Regions from separate parts of the Homo sapiens genome. Here all the other regions are linked to region 3. Evidence: promoter capture Hi-C in 16 types of primary human blood cells and fetal thymus (Javierre and others, 2016). All regions are on one chromosome and are shown on one strand. Each heading gives the region's core, a stretch centred on a gene start or on the middle of the fragment in contact. The rest is flanking DNA. Distances are from core to core; before and after follow the strand shown.

Region 1 (3,249 bases), core at 149-2,648, 2.3 Mb before region 3:
GGATCCTAAATAAGAGTGTTTCTCTTAATGTAAAACCAAATCTTATGCCACCATTAATGTTGAATTCCTGCAAAGGTAAAAATGCTTCTATCTCACAAAACTTGACCTGGGTACTATATCTGAGAGGCTCAGTGTAAATCATCTAACTCATGAAACAGAAACATGGGAAGTTAGTATACATGTTGAAAGGGCACTTTTCTAATACTGATATCCATTATGTACTCTACATCTGACACGGAGAAAAATAACTTTTCTCTACCAAGTTTTGCTGAATAGAGAGCAGGAGATGTTTAATGATGTGATGATAGTTTTAAAATTCACATAGAAAATGTAGACACTTGGTACTGTGAAAACATTAACACTTGACAAACTATTAACTTTCCTCACTTTAGAGAAGATGCTTAACATTTCTGACTCTCTCCTCCCACCTCAGCCTCACGAGTAGCTGGGACTACAGGCGTGTGATACCATGCCTAGACAATTTTTTTTAATTTTTCGTAGAGACGGGATTTCACCATGTTGCCCAGGCTGGTTTCGAACCCCTGGGCTCAAGCGATTCGCTCGCCTTCGCCTCCCAAAGTGCTGGGATTACAGGCGTCACACACCGCGCCAGGCCCTCCGTTGTTTCTTCCAGCGCTAATTTCTTTGAATTATCAATTTCACCATTTAGATGCAGAGAATCCTACTTAAAAATAAGAAGGCTAACAACTAATCACTAGAGTGTTTTAAGCTCAAACATTTAAAAAAAACCGTCGGGCCTAAAACTAGTGCAAAACAGGGACAAATTATTTTCCACTATGTCTGCTGTGTGTCCTTACTCCTTTAAAGGGGGAGGGACTGTCTGGGCAGGAGAAGGGAGTGGTTAAGGCCTGTCAAGTGAATAGAAACCCAGAGCTGGAAAACACCGGATCCTCAATTTTACAGGTAGGGGAACCATCGGCCCAGAGAGGGGGGTAACCAGCCTCGGGTCACACAGCCAGAATTAGCTGGGCGTCTTCCGAACACGCCACGCTGCCCTGGGATCACCAATTGCTTAAAGGGTCCTGACACCGCAAACTAGGGCCCCACCACTCCTCGGCCCTGTGACGCCCGACAGCGGGGAGCGGGAAGCTCCTCTCGGGAGGCCCCGGGCAGCCACAGGGAGTGGGGCCCAGCTCCAGACCTACTCGGTGGCCCGCACGAAGCTGCACGTGTCTGCCCGGCACACGTAGAAGCTCTTTCCTTTATTCGGGCCATCGCGGACGCCGGTCTTAAGAAAGCAGAAAGTCCCTGAAGAGAGAAGAAAGTGAACAACGATTACGCCACGCTAAATCAACAGGCCCCGGGACGCTGAGACCCTAGCCCCTTACCGTGCTCTGGACACCTAACTTCTTCCATTTCGCTGGGTCCCCCAAGTTCCACAAAGCCCCGCCCCCAATTCTGCTTCCGCCTTTTACTCCGCCCTCTTTGTTCAGGAACCAACCATCACTCAGCTCTTGCAGTCTTAATCCCTCCCATAATTCTCCGCCCTTGGCCTTCACCCGTCCTAGCCGCTATCAGCCAATCATATAGGAACTTCGCTCACCTCCAACCAATCACAGCTGCCCTCAGGTATGGCGCGCGCCGAAATCAAATACGGAGCCAGGGGGCGTAAAGGACCCGGCTTTTGCAGGCTGGGGCGTGGCTGAGGCTGGGGAGAAGCTTAGAAGGTGGCGGGGCTTCTGGAGGAAAAGAAGCTTCGATTTGCAGGTCTTGGAAGACGGAAGGGCAACTCTTGTTTACGTTTAAAACCGAGAGGCGGCCCTAGGGGTAGCGCCAGTTAGCAGGCGCTGAAAGGCCCTGGCTTCGTGGGTGTCTCTGAGCCAGGCTGGCGCTCGTGCGCGCTGGGCTCCGCGCTCAGTCGCTGGGGTGGGAGGCCAGGGGAAGCCGCCGCTGCAGGCCGAGCCGCGAGATTTGCAGTGCAGGAGCCGAAGCGGCGGGCATGGTGGGAGGTCCTTGGAAGCTGCTGCGGGGAACTGAAACGGCTCTGATAGGCAGGCACAAAGACTTCTCTAGGACCCCCTACAATGCTTTACGTTTGCCTCGTGCTTTAGATTTCACAAAGTGCTTACACATAACACGACCCTCCTCACTCGACCTGGTGAGATGGGTAGCATTTTGTGGAAGATTCCGAGACTCAAGTTTGAGAGACTCACCCAAGGTCAGAGTTGGCGAGTGGGCGGTCCGTGGACAGGTGCGCAGGTCTCAGCGCCATTTGGCCCGCGCTGCTGCTTCCTGTGTGTACTGGATGTTCTCTAGGCTCGCCCAGCGTGGAAGCCCCGAGTTACCAGCCGCAACGTGGAAACCACAGAAGGGGAAATAGATGACTTTTGGTGAAGGCGAATTTTACTTTATCATTTTGTATTGTCAAACTTTTTTTTACTATTATGCTTTTGTAATTTTAAAAATCGAAGACGAGGTTAAATAGAAGAAAGGGGACAGTTCCCTTCTATTTAACTTCATCCTCGATTTTTAAAATTTGAAGTTGTAATCAAAACTATTAGTAAACAGAGAGGAATAGATATTAGATTTATTGCAATAGAAATAGTTTCATATTGCAGCTATTGAGGACCATATGTCCCAGACATATGGTGTGGCACCTGCACTGTTCTTATGGGGGCCGTAGAACAGAAAATCTGTAATGTCTAGGAAATCTGGGCGATGTGATAAATGTACATGTTATGGGGATCCGGAGGAAGGGAGACAAACCTGAGGTATCATTTATTAATTAAACAGTACTTACTAAATAGCTTTTTTGTGCCCGTTGTGGACTAGGTGCTTGAGAAATGTAAAATTCATTCATTCACACACACAAAGTTTGAAACAACTATTCTAAGCACAAGGAACTTACTCAGTATTTTGAGGAGACTGAACTAGTACATGTTGAACACTTAAATAACAATATAAAATAGTATTTAAATGTCAAAATGAATGGAGTTAGCAGTAACTCTCTAGGACTAGAGAAAAATGGAATTTCCAAAGTGAAGTTCCTTTATACATAACTACCCTTCCGAAACTTAGATGAACTTAGAGATAAGACAGGAACAACAAATAGGTAGAAGCATTTTCATTATTCCAAGATTGTTATTCTTGCAAATGATGTATTTGTACATGTTTAATAGATGCTGTATTGGAGGTAGTATACCATGAATACAGGATTTGCAGAAAGAGGGGCATGGTAATTAATTATTTCTTGAATAATTTTCGAAACAAGGCAAAATCGGGGCCTCT
Region 2 (3,608 bases), core at 1,094-3,593, 2.1 Mb after region 3:
TGCTAGTTCTTTCGACGTCTGTAGAACACTTGCTACGTATTCTGTGCTGACAATACGAACACATGTAAGAAGTGATGATCCTGATGGATTCTCATATACTGTACTATTCTTTAGCTGTAGACAGGATGAAGTGTTTAGGGCCCAGGTCCCCTTACCATGTGATTATATTTCACTCAAGATCTGAGCAGCAACCTCAGAACAAGATATAAGTATTTCCATTACATGATTCAGTATGGTGGTTGATTTTTCTGAAGCAAAAGGCAGCAAATGTCCCCTTTCCTGTTCAGAGATGACATGAAAGACTGTGAGTTAATGTTCGGAAATATTTTGGTTTTTTTGGAGGATAGGTATCAAGTTCAAATATAACTAGCACTCTAAAATAAGCTAAACTGAAGAGCTAATTTGGCATCTCTGTAACAGGTGAATGAAGTGCTTAACGGTGGTTTCTATGCACAGTGTTACTGATTGACTTGTCATTTATTTTTCTACGTTAACCATATGCAACATTTAGATGAGAATAGTTGATTACTATAGATTTTTCTTTTTTACGTTTCGTGTGTGTGTGTGTGTGTGTGTGTGTGTGTGTGTGTGTGAGAGAGAGAAAGACAGACAGAGTCTCCCTTTGTCACCCAGGCTGAAGTGTAGTGGCAAGATCACTGCAGCCTTGAACTCTTCTGCTTAAGCGATCCTCTGGCCTCAGCCTCCCAAGTAGCTGGGACTGCAGGCGTGCACCACCACGACTGGCTGAGTTTTAAATTTTGCGTAGAGACTGGGTCTATTTTATTTGCCCAGGCTGGTCTTGAACTTCTGGCTACCAGTGATCCTCCTGCCTTGGCCTCCCAAAACTCTGAGATTATGGGAGTGAGCCATCCTACCTGGCCAGATTTTTATTTTCTTTCTAAAACCCACAGTACTTATGAGATAATTATTTGAAGTGAAAAATCTGCTCCAGGATTTCAGTAACTCAGGGAGATTTCTGTTTGTTGCTTTTCTCTTTGAGCCATTTTGCCTCTCTAGCTGATATACCAAATACATATGCTGTTTCCTTCCCTCTAATTTGAGACAGTGGTTTTGTATCCTACCAAAATAAATATGGAGTAGTTTTGAACCTCCTTTGTAAAAGCATATTTATCTTTTTATTCTTACAGACTTGCAAAAGTTCTATCTAAATTATGACTTATAAGTGCTTTAGTTTTATTCTCCAAAGCAAGCTGAATTACCTCATTTTGATTTGTTGCAAATAGTGATAAGCCATTATGTATAATATATATACAAATTAAAACTTTTTCAAGTGAATTTCACACTAGATATTAATACTACTTAAGTCCCACCACTCATAAAGATACTTGCATATTTGTAACCTAAGTACTTTAAATTTGCATTTTTTAAAACTTTGATTCTTGTTCTTTTGACAGTGACTGTATTTTTAAATTCATTGACACCCAAATTCTATGTGGCACTTACAGGGACCTCTTCATTGATATCAGGACTAATATTTGTAAGTAGTTTCCATTTCCTTCCTTCATGTTTTGGTGTTTATCTAAAGATATTTTTTTTTTTTCTTTTTTGAGACAGAGTCTTGCTCTGTCGCCCAGGCTGGAGTGCAGTGGCATGATCTCGGCTCACTGCAACTTCCGCCTTCCAGGTTCCAGCAATTCTTCTGTCTCAGCCTCCCGAGTAGCTGGGATTACAGGTGCCGGCCACCATGCCCGGATAATTTTTGTATTTTTAGTAGAGATGGCATTTCACCATATTGGTCAGGCTGGTCTCCAACTCCTGACCTCAGGTGATCCGCCTGCCTTGTCCTCCCAAAGTGCTGGGATTACAGGCGTGAGGCACCGCCCTGGCCTAAAGATCCTTTATATGGTTATAATAATTATAAATTATTATTACCTATGGATTAGCATTTCCAAAATGTATTCAGCATTTGAAAAGAGTTACCTATTCAAACAAGTTTGGGGAACACTGCATCTCCCAATCTACTTTTAAGAGATTGACAGTATTTATTTACATATTAAAGGCTTATTGTAAACTGTAGTCAGGGAGGGCTTGGGGTGTGTTGGAAATTAAATGCCTGCAGAGCCCAAGTTGGTAACAAAAATGAGTGAAATGGATAGAGTTTAATAATTAAATTCTTATTTCTTTGAGGACTGGGTAGCCTGGACAGTGCATGCCCCTTCTAAAAGAGGCTAAAGCTAATTGTTGCCATATAGACTTGGAACTAGTATTACCAGGTTTTTCAATTTTTCAAATGATTTAAAGAGAACCCAGACAGGCCGGACGTGGTGGCTAACACCTATAATCCCAGCACTTTGGGAGCCTGAAGCAGGCAGATCACTTGAGGCCAGGAGTTCAAGAACAGCCTGGCCAACATGATGAAACTCCGTCTACTAAAATACAAAAAATAACTGGGTATGGTGGTATGTGCCTGTAGTCCCAGCTACTCGGAAGGCTGAGGCATAAGAATCTCTTGAACTTGGGAGGTGGAGGTTACAGTGAACCAAGATCTTGCCACTGCACTCCAGCCTGGGCGACAGAGAGAAACCCTTTCTCAAAAATGAATGAATAAATAAGTAGAACCTGGACATACAGTTTTTATATAAAATTTGCCCATTAAAAAAAAATTGAGATGGAGTCTCACTACGTTGCCCAGGCCAGAGTACAGTCGATATTCACAGGCACCATTATAGCACACTGTGGCCTTAACTCCTGGGCTCAAGCCATCCTCCCGTCTCAGCCTCCCTAGTAGCTGGGATTACAGGCATGTGCCACCATGTCTGACTACAGCATTTTAATATTGGCAACATTGGGAAGACTAAAATTTATGTGTCATGAATTCAACTTACAGTTTTTTCAAGCCCCAGTTTCCTCATCTGTTAACTGGCAGTTAATAGCATGAACTTTATAGGATTATGAAGAGTAAATCAGATAATGTTGTAAGTTTATAACATGATAGCTGGTTCAGAATGTACACTTAATGAATTTTGGCCATTATTCTGAGAATTCTCACAATTAAGAAACCTGTTTGGCCTGATACAGTGGTTCATACCTGTAATCCTAGCACTTTGGGAGACCGAGGTGGGGTGATAGAGTTCGAGACCAGCCTGGGAAACATGGAAAAACCCTGTCTCTTCAAAAAAATACAAAAATTAGGCGTGTGTGGCGCACCTATAGTCCCAGCTACTGGAGAGGCCAAGGTGGGAGGATCACTTGAACCCTGGAGGGAGAGGTTACAGTGAGCCAAGATGGTGCCACTGCACTCTAACCTGAGTGACAGAGCAAGACTCTGTTTCAAAAAACAAAAACAACAAAACTGTTTAACTTTAATTCAACTTTTCCTTGAAGAAGATATTTTTAATTTAAAAAAAATAAAATATTTTTTATAATTCACGTTAACATCCCTAGGATGTCATGTTTACTAGTGTACACTTTGGAACAATACTGCTGCAGATAAAAATCTTAAGAAGTTTTATGCCATGCATAGCCAATAAATTTTTCTCTTCCCTTTAAATTTTTATTTATTTTTTGTAGAGACAGAGTCTCACTGTGTTGTTCAGGGTAGTCTCAGACGCTTGGGCATAAACGATCCATTCTCCTCGGCCTCCCAA
Region 3 (3,304 bases), core at 16-2,515:
GAAAGCATTGAAAATGAAGCAAATATTTGTGCTTAGGAAAGCGTGGGAAGGCATCAAAGAGAGCAAAAAGGCAGTTTTGAGGTGTTATACATGGGACTGGACACCAGCAACAAAGGTGGTGAGGAAATTTTTGAACAGAAATGGGACACGGCCTCCTCTTAGAATTCAAGAGGTTGAATTGAAGGTTGTCTTTCCTTCATTGCACTTATTCCAATGTGTATGTTTAGATTTGTTTTTGTGATCATCAATGATGCTAGACTAAAAGTTCCTTGAGGACAAGTCTATATCCGATTTTCTTTACAACTGTATACTTCCCAGTGGTTACACATACAACATGTCAAATAAATGTGTTGTAAGCAAAAAGTGGGTAGGAGAGTTCTCAGAAGACTGGCTGCTCATTATTTATCCAATACTGTCAAGTGAGAGAGCCAGTGAATCTGTGAAAACAGAAGCATTGAATCTGGGAAAAGCATTCCTCTCACCAGAGGAGCATGCTCTACTGTCTGGCAGGGGATAATCCATTGAACTTCCTGTGGTCATAATTACCCATTTTTCTCCTTCCTTCTTCCCCCATTGGATGAATCATCTCTTTGCTCTTATTTCAACCTTTTAATTACTGATCCACCCTCTTTGATTACCTGACACAACAGGAATATCTTTCGTAACTTGAAAGGTCAGTTGACTGAATTTGTTTCATTTTGTTTAGTGATTATGCAGCCTTGCTCACTCTTGTGCATCTGTTGCAATGTTTTTCGTGGAAAACAAAGGTCTCATTTAGATTTCTAAATTACCTTGCTACAAAGCTGACTCTATACTAATGAAATTCCTCTAAAACAGTAGACGTAAGAAAGAATGCTTGCACTATAAGAAGAAACGAGTGTGAGGTCCTTCCGGATTTTTGCTGGGAAAAGATAAATCATTTTTTATGACTCCTGAATATGCCATCAGAATTGTTGGCCTTCAAGGTTTACCCCATTATTGTGGGCTAAAACGTATTCAAACGCTCGAAGACTAGAGACGCCTAAAGCCACCCGCCACCCCTAGTGTCCAGGAGGAGTCAGTAAACACCGAGATTGCTTCCCGCAGCACACCCAAGAAGGAATGTAATGTAATGCAGCCACCATGTTGGTTGTGGTTAAGTGCAGCAAACTGCTTGGCGTCACTTAGCCCTGCTGCGCAAGCGTGTTGAGAGTACGCTTCACTCCGCCCCTTCTCGTGCACGCGCCCGGAGCCCGCAACTCTCGCGAGAGAAGCGAGATTTATTCCTACGTACCGGGCCGTGCTGCTTATGGCGGCGCTGGAGAGGGGGCGCTGAGCTGTTGGGGTGAGTACGACCTCAGGGTCCAACTGGGGGTAGCAGAAACCCAGGGGAAGGGCTGAGAATAAGACCAAGGCTAACGAGAAGCCTTCTGAGTCAAGGTGGGCACTCGTAGAGCTCTAGGTGGGGAAGAATGCACCCCGATTCCCTGCCCTGGGCTTTTTCATACGTCTCCCGTTCAACTGCCTGGGCCTCATGTCAGGTCGCAGAGCTGAAACGAGGAGTTGAGGCCAGCCGGCTGCGCGTGGTGGTAGTGGTGGTGGTGACTAAAGTGGGGGGAGGGAGCGAAAATGGAGGCTCCGACAGCAGCCAAGATGGAGGCAGAGGGTGCGGGGCTCGGGCGCGGAGGCTGCTGGGATCTGTAGTCTGGCTGCTTCCCCATCTGCGGCTTGTCTGGGGAAACGGGAACTACATGTCCCGGCGGGCGGGGCGAGGGGGTGGTGGCGCGGTCCTTTGTGTGAGGTTGGAAGAGCCTGAGACCGAGAAGAGGGGCCTACTTTGACTCTGGACCCTGTAGTTTCCTGGCCGTTACCTGCTTGGGAATCTGACTACCAGTACCAGAGCGCAGTGCGGCAGTGGCGCCTTCTTTGTGTATAGACTGAGACCCTGCTCCATCTAGATATCTTAGGGGAAGTGTTTAAAGACACCTTTCCCCAGCCACATCTGGCACAGTAGTGTGGCGGAATTGACATCGTTACTCCAGTCACCTAGAGCAGGGTCTCAGCACCCAACCTTCCCCTCATTGTCTCCCCTTCGGCGTCTTGAGAAAGGGAACCAGTCCCTAATCTTTTAGGCACGTGGCTCCCACCCCTCTATCTTGGGGAATGGGCGTGCGCCCTGAAAGCTCAGTAGTGTCCTCCCTTCCACCTCCTGTAGTTCTCATGGTGCCAGCGCCTGGCCCACCCACATTGTGCAATGAACGGCCTGGCTTCGTCATTCTATGTAGAATGTTTTAGAGTTCCCCCGTCGGAGACAGCTTCAAATTTTTGCCATGCTATTTTATCAATACGAAATCTTAGTGCCAAGGTTCTTTTGCTTTAAGGTTTTCCCTTAGAAACACCCAGATGGCGGCCGTCTTGCTTAACTCACAGGTGAAGCAGAGAACGCTCCCTGAAACAGGCTTGAATCTGCAAAGAATATCTGAACGTTGTTGGGCAAGTTAATTTTCGTGTTTTGCACCTTAAATGAGTAAAAGAATATGGCGCTCTTTAAACAGTTGGGAGACAGGGCGGAGAGGGAGAATGCTCAAAGGCACTGTGGTAGTTAAATCTTTTTGAGAGGCTTAAATTTTCATCAGGCTGGTATGAACTGGCAGTTCTCAGCCACTGCTACTAACCTACTTTTTTAGAATGTAGGTTTCAAATTATAGCCCACAGATATAAGCTACTCTATACTAAAATGCTGAGTAATTTTCATTTTGAGTAACTAAAGGCAAACATTCTTGATATTGCATTGAGGAGCACTATAATACATACCTTGGTTTTCTTTTGGTACTAACCAATAATGGATATCCTTGGTGTGGGTAAGGAGGGGCTTTATATACTTCAGTAGGGATATACCTGAGTCATAAAACTTAGATAAATATTTGGCCTTCTTTTTGTTTCGTTTTAGCCCTGGGACTAAAATAAAAGAGAAGGTAATAGTTTGGTTTTGCAGCTGTTCTGGATGTTTACCATCGAGATGATTATTTATAGCAGCTGAGTTGAAAACTAAAGTATTTGAGGCACAGAAGATAGGTTTTCTTTTTTTGTAAGTACTGACTTAAGTGTGACCTTTAGCGAGTGTGGGTGAAAATCTGGTAAAGTCCTAGCAAATCAAAATTGAAAGCGTGAAAGCTGACGTGCAGTCTGGCTTTACCCTCTACCCTTATTTTCCCTTCTCCCCACCTGAAGACACATCGTGTAGGGCCATCGATTTTTGTTTTAAACAAACAAAATGCTAAAATATCAAATTATGCTGGAGCATTCATAACATGAAATTTAGTGT
Region 4 (3,199 bases), core at 394-2,893, 2.1 Mb after region 3:
TGTCTCAAAAAAAAATTAAAATTAAAAAAATCTACACATCACCTTATCTTGAGAACTTCACCTGTTGTTCAGGACTGGGTATCGCACAGCCCACACATGCCCACACTACAGCAATGACCTCCGGTATTGTAACTGTCTACATTAGGAGTCAGTAGGGAGTAGGAATTAAGAACAGGGGCTCTAGAGTTCAGCTGTTTGGGTTCTAGTGTCAGACCCAGCACTAGCTCTGTAACCTCTCTGAACCTCAATTTGCTTCTCAGTAAAATGGAGATAGCTACCTCATGGGATTCTTGTAGTTAATGTATGTGGACCCAGGTCCATGTAATATGGATTCAATAAATGTTAGCTATCTTGAAATTGCATTCCTCATTTAGACTCTAAGTTGTTTGAAGGCAGAAATGGATCTTCCGAACATAGCTCTCAGTTCACCCTCGAGAAATGTTCATTGAGTCAGTTAAGAGGCCTGGGGCCAAACTGCTGCGGACCTGTTTTCACATTTGTCAAATGTCTGGATTGCACTTCAGATATTTAAAGTCTGTATGACTCCTAACATTCATTCATTCATCAAATATTTGTTGACAACCTATTATGTGCCACTCACTCTGCTAGACAACGGGGGAAGGGACAGGCTGGAGGAGCCCGTGAGGTAGCAGGGCCAGACCACCAGTTTGGAGCCAGACAGGCCCGGCTGTGTGAATTCTTGCTGTCACAAGTCAAAAACAGTTGTGTAAGCCACTTGATTTCTCTGAACCTCAGCTTCTCTATGGGCAAAAGGGGATGGGTATATTTTCCCCAGAGATCTGTGATGAATATTGAAAGGGTTAAGCTGTGTAGTGTCCCAAGCACAAGCCAATGAAATGTTGGTGGACGTCCTCATTCTACTCCCACCTCCTCAGCTCCCTTACAGGGAAAGGAGATACGCGTGTAGGTAAATATCCTATGCGCCAAGTCAGACCTAGGAGTGGGAACAGAATTCACAGCTGGGATCCAGAAGCATTTCTAGGCGCACCCTTTGAGGAGTAGGTAGGAATTGGACTCCTGGAAATTCCAGGCCCAGGGAAGAAAGCGAATTGTGAGGAGGAACGGTGGTCTGGGTCTGAACGGCTCTGAGAGGTCTTCAAGTTTGGGGGATGACGTTGGGCTGTACGATCCTAGGAACAAGAGGGTGGACATCTCCCCCCAACCAACACACCCGCGCCGGGCCCTGGGACCTCCCGGCGGATACCCTTTCCCAGTCCCGCTTCCCGCGAGGTCCCAGGTGCAGCAGGAGCGGGTGGCCGCTTGGCCACAGGAGGGCAGCAGCGGCCCTTCCTGACCCCACCCCGAGCACCTCTTAACTTTCCCGACGCCGGTCCTCCCCTAGGGGATTGAAGGCTGGGCAGAGTCTGAGTCCACCCGGGTCGTGCTCCCCCCGCTCGCCCGGCTCCTCCGCAGTCCAGGAATCTCCCCGTGGCTCTCCCCGACCTGGAGGGGTGGACGCCCCTGGCCCCCAGTCCCCGGCCTGCGGAGGGGGCCGGTGGCTGCGGCCCTGCGCGGGGCCGGGGCGGGCCGAGCCAAGGGCCGCCCCCGGCCGACCCTCCCCCTGCCGGGCCCGCCCTCCCCGCCGCGGCGCTGGAGGAGGGCGGGGCGGGGCCCTGGGGTCAGTCTGAGCCTCCGGCACCGGCCGCGCAGCTGGAGGCGGCGGAGCGGAAGGTACCCTGGGCCGGGGCTGCGGGCGGTGGGGCGTCTTGGGAACTCGTCCCCAGGAGAGCACTTTCCCTTCCTCGCTGGCCCGGAGATCGGGGCCCGTGCGAGGAGGGGCTTCGGCCTGGGCGTGGACCCCGTTCCCTCCAAGCGGAGTCGGCATCCGGGCTGGGCGGTGGTCGGACCGCGTCGGCCCCTCCCCGGGCTGCAGCGAGGGGGCCCGGACCTGCCGGCAGGGGCTCTGGCCTCCTGAGGTCCGAGTCGGAGCCCCTTCCCTTCTCCTCCCAGCTTCCCGGAACCTGCCCCGCCGGGCGAGGGGCGAGGGAACTTCAACTCAGACGCCCCAGCCCCCAGGGTGGGCGGCCGCAGGGGACCTAGAGTGGGATGGGGTGGGAATTCCTCCAGGCCAGGAGGGAGGTATGGCGGGAATAGGGGCGGGATGTGACCATTGGGGCCTGCCACTGCTCGGCAGGGTCTGGACGCCGCCCTGGACGGTTCCTGGAGCCCGCTTGTGTTGAGGATAAGGGAGATGGGGAAGGATCCAACTCTGTGTGTGTGTGTGTGTGTGTGTGTGTGTGTGTGTGTGTGTGTGTGTGTGTGTGTGTGTGTGTGTGTGTGTGTGGTGTGTGTGTGTGTGTGTGTGTGTGTGTGTGTGTAGAGAGAGAGAGAGAGAGAGAAAATGAGATTGAGAATCCTCCTTCTTCATACTCGAACCAAGAAAGAGTATCCTGGGGTTTGGGACTGGGATCCCGAGGCCGAGTCCCGCCCTCACTCTGGTTTTAAAGTTGAGAATGCAGTATCTCTTGGTATCTCCAGAACGGATTCCTTCCCTAGGTGTAGGGTGGGCCGGCAAAGTCAACCGGCCGCTCTGGATCATCTGGGAATTCAAGAGAGCGATTGGAGAGAGGTCTGATGTAGCCACACTGTCTTGTCTTGGGGAAGGCCCCAGAAGTTCCAGGCTCCATTCCAGGCCCTGTGTGGGGCTCAGTTGCCCCTCTTAAGGGGTCAGTGGGACAGTCCCTCTGGGGCTGCCTCTCACAGGGAGTTGTCCATGCCATCTTGGCCTTGGGCCTAGTGTCCTGGCCTGGGCTGCCTGCTGTTCTGGCCCAATCATAGCCTGGAGGGAAAGTCTTCTAATTGGGCTGGAGGCTCCAGGTCCCTTAACGCATGCCTCAACCCCGGGTTTCTGTCCTCTGCCTCCCACCACTCTGGTGCCGTCTGAATTACCCTGCTGGGGGGACAGCAGTGGCATACTCATGCCTAAGTGACTGGCTTTCACCCCAGTAGTGATTGCCCTCCATCAACACTGCCCACCCCAGGTTGGGGCTACCCCAGCCCATCTTTACAAAACAGGGCAAGGTGAACTAATGGAGTGGGTGGAGGAGTTGGAAGAAATCCCAGCGTCAGTCACCGGGATAGAATTCCCAAGGAACCCTCTTTTTGGAGGATGGTTTCCATTTCTGGAGGCGATCTGCCGACAGGGTGAATGCCTTCTTGCTTGTCTTCTGGGGAATCA

The links. Contacts are between HindIII fragments. The CHiCAGO score rates a contact against its expected background, and 5 or more counts as called.
Region 1: a contact is called between the fragment with the promoter of TTF2 here and the fragment with the promoter of CSDE1 in region 3, in 2 of 17 cell types (neutrophils and fetal thymus). The highest score is 7.3, in neutrophils.
Region 2: a contact is called between a fragment that was not itself captured here and the fragment with the promoter of CSDE1 in region 3, in 1 of 17 cell types (monocytes). The highest score is 6.7, in monocytes.
Region 4: a contact is called between the fragment with the promoter of RHOC here and the fragment with the promoter of CSDE1 in region 3, in 1 of 17 cell types (non-activated CD4 T cells). The highest score is 5.3, in non-activated CD4 T cells.

The regions. Positions count from the first base shown.
Region 1 is chr1:117,058,475-117,061,723 of GRCh38, reverse strand. It overlaps TTF2 (transcription termination factor 2), which reads right to left and starts at 1,398. Exons shown (of 23, transcript NM_003594.4): 1 at 1,350-1,398; 2 at 1,167-1,269. The coding sequence starts at 1,377. It overlaps CD101-AS1 (CD101 antisense RNA 1), which reads left to right and starts at 2,234. Exons shown (of 4, transcript NR_110786.1): 1 at 2,234-2,351. RefSeq lists an enhancer at 1,698-1,857 and a silencer at 2,278-2,327. The HindIII fragment of the contact is 4,450 bases long and covers 1-1,682 here.
Region 2 is chr1:112,614,703-112,618,310 of GRCh38, reverse strand. It overlaps ST7L (suppression of tumorigenicity 7 like), which reads left to right. Exons shown (of 15, transcript NM_017744.5): 2 at 1,416-1,498. Among named protein-coding and RNA genes, the nearest start is that of ST7L, 2.6 kb to the left of the region's middle. The HindIII fragment of the contact is 5,337 bases long and covers 1-3,608 here.
Region 3 is chr1:114,755,945-114,759,248 of GRCh38, reverse strand. CSDE1 (cold shock domain containing E1) reads left to right here and starts at 1,265. Exons shown (of 20, transcript NM_001007553.3): 1 at 1,265-1,324. RefSeq lists enhancers at 1,059-1,348, 720-1,713, 1,549-1,868. The HindIII fragment of the contact is 3,696 bases long and covers 1-3,304 here.
Region 4 is chr1:112,705,571-112,708,769 of GRCh38, reverse strand. It overlaps RHOC (ras homolog family member C), which reads left to right and starts at 1,643. Exons shown (of 6, transcript NM_175744.5): 1 at 1,643-1,692. RefSeq lists a silencer at 1,204-1,923 and an enhancer at 3,183-3,199. The HindIII fragment of the contact is 12,151 bases long and covers 1-3,199 here.